Regions from separate parts of the Homo sapiens genome. Here region 2 is linked to region 1. The links are contacts of gene promoters, found by promoter capture Hi-C in blood cells and fetal thymus (Javierre and others, 2016). All regions are on one chromosome and are shown on one strand. Each heading gives the region's core, a stretch centred on a gene start or on the middle of the fragment in contact. The rest is flanking DNA. Distances are from core to core; before and after follow the strand shown.

The links. The method cuts DNA at HindIII sites, captures the fragments that hold promoters and counts their contacts. A CHiCAGO score of 5 or more calls a contact.
Region 2: a contact is called between a fragment that was not itself captured here and the fragment with the promoter of ZIC4-AS1 in region 1, in 1 of 17 cell types (fetal thymus). The highest score is 5.4, in fetal thymus.

What each region holds. Positions count from the first base shown.
Region 1 is chr3:147,384,254-147,388,644 of GRCh38, forward strand. It overlaps ZIC4-AS1 (ZIC4 antisense RNA 1), which reads left to right and starts at 2,609. Exons shown (of 2, transcript NR_046703.1): 1 at 2,609-2,846; 2 at 3,066-4,391. It overlaps ZIC4 (Zic family zinc finger 4), which reads right to left. Exons shown (of 5, transcript NM_032153.6): 5 at 1,793-4,391. The HindIII fragment of the contact is 2,882 bases long and covers 14-2,895 here.
Region 2 is chr3:147,418,090-147,422,067 of GRCh38, forward strand. LOC440982 (a long non-coding RNA gene) reads left to right here and starts at 3,238. Exons shown (of 3, transcript NR_121655.1): 1 at 3,238-3,470. RefSeq lists enhancers at 1,059-1,208, 2,147-3,075. The HindIII fragment of the contact is 4,275 bases long and covers 1-3,757 here.

The DNA.
Region 1 (4,391 bases), core at 1,359-3,858:
TAAAGCGCCCCCAAGCTTCCCTGAGCATTGTCAGTTCAGGGTTGGAGGCGGGTAACTTCCCCAGAAAGCAAATGAGATAATTCTAGGGTGAGGCTAGCCAAGGGCACTTGGGGACCAGTAAATTCAACCCTCTGTCAAAGGTTACACTATTCAACTCTGCCAAACAATAATGACTCAAAGGAAATCTCACCTCTCCTAGTGGCTGGGGCACTGAGGTGTCTAAGAGCACTTTCTCTTTCCTCTTCTACTGCCTCGCAATTAGAACTTGGAAGGTTCAAAGACAGGCCTTTGCTTCTCCAAAACTCTTTCGCGGAATGTCAAGGACAGCGGAGTCTCCCGGGCACCCTGTCTTTTCTCTGCATTCTAGGGAATGATTTAGGCCTCAACTCCTGGGCGCCCTCTCGTGCAAGGCTTTCCTGGGGGAATGGGAAGGTGTCGGTAGAAGGGCTGGTATCCTCTCTGGAGCCATGGGCAGGCACAGCTGTGAAGACTCCAGGCAGCAGGATTGAGCGGAGAGCTCCGAGCCCCAGAAAAGCCTTGACTGGAAGTCTCGAGTTCATTCCTAATCCCCACCTGCTCCTCACCACAATGCTCAGTCGGTTAAAGAGCTTTAATGAGTGCTGTTTCTCAAAGAGGCCGGGTCGAGGAGAGGCCCCTCTAACCTGTCCGCGAGACGGAGGAAGGGGGCCCTTTCGCGAAATGAACGGGAGGGGGCGCTAACTCCAGTGTTAATGCCCAGGGACCTCCTTTCTCAGGGACATGTCTTGGTTTCCCCTCATGGCCTCCTTTATCACACCTGCGCGTCTCTCGCGCGCCGGGATCCTTTCTCCCAACGTTTTACCCAGGACTGCAGCCCTTGCCCTACGAGTTGAGTCTCTAGTGTGTTATCTAAGGAGACCCAGCATTCCCACCCCAGGAGTCGTTGTCTTCCCACTCCATCCAGCCCCTTGCTCCAACCAAGCCCACGGGAACCAACTCCTCAGGAGTTAAAAAAAAAAAAAAGTGTCAGGCGAACTGCTCACTGAGGTGGCTCCTGAGCAGTAGGTGCAGAGGCAACAATGTATGCGGGTATCTAGAGGTCCAGTGACCACGCAGTGGAGGAGGGAAGATGGCTCTGGTGATTCATTTGAAATAAGTCTCCCAGTGGCTGGGCCAGATAAGAGTGTGCGTGCATCGGATGCTAAAACTCACCAGATATCTCAATCGGGGCCCAGGGAAGTGTCATGTGGGCTGTAGCCTCCCAGTCTTCAGGCATAGGCCTTCGCGCAGGTATCTGAATGGAGCCTTGAGGTCTGAGCAATCACTTCTCCCAGAGGGGGCAGGGTCCAGCTAGGAAGATCTCTGCGGCCAACTGTGCCTCAGACACTCCACCAGCGCTTACTCAGGTCTTACAGCCGAACTGTCCTGTCTTTTTCTTTCCTTGTTTTGATTCCCACCAGCTATTGGACTTTTCTCTGGGAATTCAGGGGTGGTTATTTGACGTTGCTCTGAGCTGGAAATGTAGAAAGGTAGCCTTTCCTGGCAGACACTGAGAGGATCCTTTCAACTTTTTCCATTCTATAAAGTATTAATAAATTGGTTGATGATGTCAGTGCCATTAGGGTGAAATTGAGATGAGAGAAGTCTTTCTCACAATGGCTGCTTTAGGGGGTCCCTCCATTTTGCTGTCCTGAGACTAGGCCCCCAGAGATATTTGTGTGAAGCGGTGAAGAAAGACTGAGGAGAGAATTGGAGGCTTCTGGAGGGCCTCGAATCTCGTCCAGGATGAAGAAACAATAACAGGACACCAGGATTCAAAAGAGGAAGAGAAACATCACATTATTTATTTCCAAAGAAAATAGCCAAATGCAGCGCCATGTACACAAAAGCCTTTGGAGGGAAAAGGAATCACAGATTTAATATCATTTACATTTATATATTTACAAGATCAAGCCATGGCTTTCAACTTTGTTGTTCATTCAACAATCACTTTCAGTCAAACAACTTTTATTTTCAAGTTAGTTCATAATTTAACTGACACTAAAGAGACAGATGATAAATCACAAACAGTGTGGGTAGAGAGGGTACAAATAGTCTAAAGATTTCAGCCAGGCTTTTGTGTATATGTGAATTATGATTACAAAATGTTTGCCTGTCTGTATAATTCACATTCATTGCAATTATTACATTTTCTCATAAATTAGCAATATAAACAAACATATGGAGACCTTCAGTTAACAAATAAAATCAATATCAGGAAGAACATTTTGCAGCAACTATAATAACAGCATGGGTTACAGCTTGGAAAAACTTCTTTACAAGCCATTTATTCAGCACACACAGAGTAGGGGGACCAGCACATCCTTATTTATTTAAACCACCTTTAAAACCACCACAGGAGTTTTGGGGAAACCTGAACTGGGTGAAAGTTTCTTTGCTGGGCACAATATAAAATGAACAACTTCACACGTGAATGAAGGGAAGGATGGGCATTTACATGCATTTTCGATCACTGTGTTGTAGACCAAACCTTCTAAACTTCAATTGCCAAGATTCTGAAGGAAACAGGAAATTAATAAAATATCTCTCTCCTTCAGCTATTCTCCTTCTTATTAACGGCAGAAAGGGCTTGTTGATTGCTGCTAGTGAGAAGAAACACACAATGGGTCTATTTTTAGCAGAGGTGGCTTTGAAGGAGCAGGAGATATTAACAATTGCTTGGCTGCATTCTTAAGTTCCAAGGATCCTGGGCAAGAATATTAGGAGCCTGAGGGGTACCCAAAGGAAACCCATCTATGTGACCCAACTTGGGCTGATTGAATGCAAACCAGAGCAGAAAGAAGCAGAAACACAATTATGGACTTAGGGTATGTATTCTGCTTGCACCCTCTCTGCATTCTTTTCCTCATGTCCCAAAGCTTGTCCCGAGGGCCCCCCAACTTCTGCATACTTCACCAGACCAGGCCCTGACCCTGATGTCTAGGCATTGCTTTTGTTTATCCCTTAGCAAGACTTAGACCTAAAGTTATGTATTGATGCAGTGTGTGGATATTGTTTTAAAAGAAGTTTGATTTTTATCTCTTTAGAAACGGTTTGAAACTAACGGGGCAGAGGGAGTTTGACAGAGAGGAGAACAAATCGCTGACAAAGAACCTTTTACGTTTCATCAGCGTTGTTAGGACGACAAGCAGGAATGTCTCAGATAATAACTCCCACTTCAAAGATTTCTCAGCTCAATAGAAAGCGGACCATCCTTTTTATTCAACCACAAGGACTGGCACTAAAGAAGACTCCACTGTTTGATTTTTTTTTTCACTGTGTTTATTTTTCCCCTATTCACTGGGGTACTTGGATAAAATAAACAACAAGACAATTAAGGGAACATGGACTTCTAACTTTCCTGCCATCTTCCCCACATCCCCTTGGCCTTGGGCTCTTGAGTTTGCATCTAGGACTAGTCCAGGCCTAAGGGTACCACACACCCTGCCTTAGAAAGAAACAAGTTTCAGGGGCCGCAAGAGACTTTTGGGATGGAAAGGAAGAAGAGTGGCACGGAAAGCCAGAGTGGAAATTCCCAAGGGCACAGTCTGAACTCCTCAGACTCCCCCAGGGTGGCTCCCTTCCCCCCAAGTCGCCATTAAATTTAAGCCTCCATCCTACTCAAGAGTCAGAAAGGCGATTTGCACAAAACTGAGCTTGGAATGCTCATTTGTTAAGCTTCGGAGGCTGCTTTAAAATCTTTCACTCCTGATCCTGGAGCCTCTTTGGGGTGCAGTCAAGATGCACAGAGTCCTTGTGCTCCTCCCTTTCCTGAAAGTGTCCCCTGCGCCAAAGCCTCCCACATCAGGGTGCAGAGTGAACCCCTAAACGTGGGCAAGTCGGGTTCTAGAAAGGAAGTATATACTGGAGAGCGCAGTGACAGTATTAAATGGCGTGAAAGCAAAGGTCAGCGCAAATGTATCTTAATAGAGTGTCTGTAGTGAAGTGTGCCGCCTTTGAAGCGGCCGCTCCCCGCGCGTATTTCCATGGCGAGCCTAACGCGGCATGCTGATGCACCGTCAAACTCACACTTTCAACCCCAAAACCCGACTCTTTGAACAACCCGAGCTTGATTAGACCTTTCTCCTTTTCTTTCCCCTCTTACAAACCATTTCCTCGCCTTTAGAAACTCGCCATCAAACCCAAACGCGCCCTCTGATCACCGCAGAAAGCAGAAACAAAGGGGGCTGAGCGGCGATTCAAGCGGCTCTTTTCTTCCTTCACATTATTATCCATTTTTATTATGATCGGGTACAAGTGCCCATTCGCGTGGGTTTTGTTTACCGGAAATTAAATGAAAATGATTTAGTCCGCGTCAAACAAAAATATATACTTGTATACACAAGAAAAAAGGTCTGTTAGACGTAAATATT
Region 2 (3,978 bases), core at 370-2,869, 33 kb after region 1:
TAGTCTCTCTTTCGGCTTTTAACCACACTGTCCATCCTCTGTAATATGTACCATTTAAACTAGTTAGATATAGAAAGTAAGATTATTATGGGTAACCATATAGCAATTTTTAAAAAATGATAAGCACTATTTTGGGGCAAGAAATACAAAAAATGTTAACTTCTTATGTCACATTCAATCCTTTTCCTTAAAGTTTATTGCAAATACAATGGTGTAATAGGTGCAAAATATGAATAATGTTCTCCTTAAATCTATGCAAGGCTGGTTTGCTCCAGAGTCCCTTCCTTAGCAAGAGGAAACACATCAGGCCAAACCAGAGGCTATTTTTACTGTGGAAGCTGGGATCTGTCATCAGTTACTAAAGTTGATATCCACTTTAGAGTGAAGAACTAAAACAGTGTGAAGTTTCCAACTGATGTTATATACCAAAGGTGAGTTTTTAAAAAATCGGGTTTAGCTATCTAGAGTGGAAATATCACTTGGCAGTGAAGATGCCACAGACTGACATTGTGTCAACTGTCCACAATACTTTGGCTGCCTCTGATGGTTGTCAGACATCTCTGTAAGCATATCCAGGAAAATCCACCGGTTGTGAAAGTTACGCAGTGACATTTTCACCTATGGCACACACAAGAATCAACTATTGAGCGTGGGTATAAACATATTGGAATCACATCTTTAAAAACAACAATAGCAAGCAAACCCAAGCCGTCCGACCTTAGCAAACTTTAAAAAATTGTTATTTTACGTCTTTCTTTTGTGTAACAATGTCCATGAAGTTACAGTAAGCGGGAACACAAACGGTGAGAGAAGCTCGCATCGCGATTCCTTTTTAAACATTTTCCATTCATCCGCGAAAATGCTAGCCTCTGACTAAGAAAACTGAAAGTTGTGGAGAAAGGACAGGGGTGGGATGGAGTGCGTAAAGGGAAATTTTTGCATTGGTGGATTTATTGAAAGCATGGAAACAGTCTTCGGGGGTAGGTGTAGGGGGTGCAACAGCGAGACTTCCCCACAACACCTCCACCGAAGGCTGGGTCGTCAGCGTTTGAGGGACCCTCCCGCCACCCCGCAGCCTGGCGGGGCGCTTTCCAAATCGTCGCGGCAGGCTCTGGCCGGGCAGGGCGAGATGTGCGCATGCGCGGCCTGTGGCCCGAGGTTCCACGTGCTGATGAATATGCATGAGACTCCCCCGCCCTCGCGGGCTAGAGAGAGAACCAAGCAGAGGCTCCGGCCTGTGAAAGTCGCTGGCTAGGCTCCCAAAATAGTGCGGCGGGGTAGCTGCACGTGTTTGTTTTCAAACCGCGCTGGTTTAAGTGAGTTCACACTGCGGAGCCGACAGCAGAGGGTAGAGCAACCTGGGGCTGCTGCCATTGGAACGGCGAGTTGAGCGGGCCTGTCAGGGCCTCTCCGCCGAGGGCCGGGGGCTGCATGGTGCTCGAGCCCCAGCCGGCCACACCCCAGTGCATCGGGTGGCTGGGCTTCCAGTTTACACCGGGCCTACCAGGGAGGCCTTCTTCTCTTATCCTTTCCCAAGCCCGAGCTGCCGCCCCGGCTGTTCTCATATCCCTAGCCCCTCGGAGAAGACTTAGCCTACCCCTAGTCAGAGCTCAGGCCCCAGGTGACCGGGCAGCGGCTTGGGGGAGGTTCCCTAGGCCCTTCCCTCATCCCTTGCCCAGATCCAAGTCTGGGTGCCGGCTTGTCTTTGTCTTTCCGCCTCTCTCTCCCACTCTTTTCTCCTACTTCCTCTTGCTCTCTGGCATTTCCCCAGCCTCCCACCGCCCCATTTGAGATACTAGGAGCCATTTGCTTGAATGACTGTTCTAGGGTTTCCACTTGACCCTTTGCAAATAATACCAGTCAGCTTGCCTGTCTTGGAGTTGAAATGGTCCTGTTAAATCCAAACGTGCTTAGGTAGCGCAAACGTCGGGACTGGTGGAGGAACTGCCCTGGCCTAGAGACCAGAAAGGGTAGGGTTTGGTGAGAGACACCTGGGTTCAGTCGCTGGATTATTGCTTTCCTCTCTAGTGAAGTCCTTGGGGATCTGCATGGTATTTTGTGGCCAATGTGCTGACATTTCCAGAGTGAGCGTATAATCTTTCTAGGTGGAGTGGCCAACGCTTGTAAACAAAGGGGAGGGGCAACAGAGGGTCCCTGGGTCACTCTAACCTCTGACCGACTAACATCTACAGCCTTTGGGTGTTTTAGTAAGAATCCTGGGTCCCATAACATCAGAAGTGGTTGCCGACAGATTCCAATCCTACTCTAGATTTTTACTTTCATTTGAACAGGTAGACCCACTTTGTGGAGCTTATCATTTCATTTCCCTCACTGGGAACAGGATGCCTAGGTCAGTGCCGGGCTCACACTGCAGTCTATCCCAGGGCCAGTTCCATCTGTGCCAGTTTTGGAATACCGGGACCACAGTATCAGTTCACCCGACAACTACCACTCCCCAAGCCTTCAGCGTGGAACCTGAGGACGCAGGGAGGGAGGCTTTGGAAATGTTCCTGCCAGGACAGTGCCTTTTTTCCTACCCAAACTCCCGAGTCTCCGAGCTCAATAACGCAAGGATGGCTGAAGAGCGTCTGCTCCATGTCTCTTTGCCGGACTCAACGACCCTCACCCACTGCCACCGAGTGCTAGGCCCACAGAGGCCTGGCAGAAGCCACTCACCCCTCACTACTCATGACTAGGAAGAAAGTGGCCGGGGCATGAGGGTTCGAGTTCTGTCCTAGGTCCCGGAAGCCAGGGCTCCCAGCGTCTAGTCAGGGGCGCAGAAACCCTCGTTCCTCCAAACCCCCGCCACAGGGACCACTCCAGAAGAAACCCATTCGTGATTTGGGTCCCTTTGTGTTTGAGTATTGTGGGGAGTGGGCTATCTAGACTCTAAGGACTCCAAGCTAACGATGACCTGTGTGGGCCTTGCTCTGAACAGAAAACTCAAACTCAGCGTGGGTTCCCGCGTCTTCCCCAAAAGGCCAAGGCCCAAAGAACCCTTTTCATTTGGCGAGGGGCTTGAGGAAGGGAGGGGCTGGGGCGGGAGAGGGTCGGGGTCTGCAAGCCAGCGGCCCGGCGCAGCGGACTTGTCCGGCTGCTCAGCTTGGCAGCTAGCGTCCGTGCCGGCAACGCTGTTACCCTCTCCTGGGCTGGAGAGTGGGGACATCCCTTCCCCGCCCCTAGGCGTCCCTGGGGTCGGCGCCAGAGCCCGGGAGCGCCGGAGGCTCTGGCTGGATGGCGGCGAGGAGGGCTCTGAGTCCTCTCCCGGCCAGGCCGAGCTTAGTATGTGGAGGCGGCGGCGGGAGTGCGGGCATGGACCAAGGGAAGGGGGACACCCAAACCGCATTGGTGCCTTCCTTTCCCTCCACTCGCGCCGTAGACCTCCCCAAATTGCCCGTCTCCGGTATGACTGAATCTGTCTGCTGGCCTCTCAGCTACCAACTCTGCCCGAAATCTAGATCCCAGACCTGGTAAGTCGCGTTCCTCCCCTACCCCGCCCCGCCACCTTACTAGCGGACTCTGCCCGCGACAGCGTGCGCGCGCGTGGCCTGAGGCGCGCGCTGAGAAGTTGGGCTGATTTGGAACTGCTGCGCTAGTTCGGCCTCTGCCGCTGGGGTGTATACGTTTATACGCCGTACGCTCCAGGGTAGTCAGGAATGTCGCGGGGCTCCCCAGTGAGGCGGGAGCGAAAAGAGTGCAGGCCCACTCTTCTGGATCCTCTTGGCCCTGTTGACACCAAAGCCATCTTTTAAGAATAAGCTTTCTGCTGGTCTCTAAAAGGGGAAAGGGGCAGCGGGGGAAGAGAATTGTCCCTTTCCCTAAGCAGTTTCTAATCACTAAGGTCTTCAACAAAGTTTACTGGGCGGTTTCCATTTGAATGCTGTGAAATTGTTATTATTACTATTTTAAGTTAAGGTTTCTAAGAGTCACAGCTTCTCAAATATACGTGCCTCTTGAGGATGCTTCGACAATTACCTT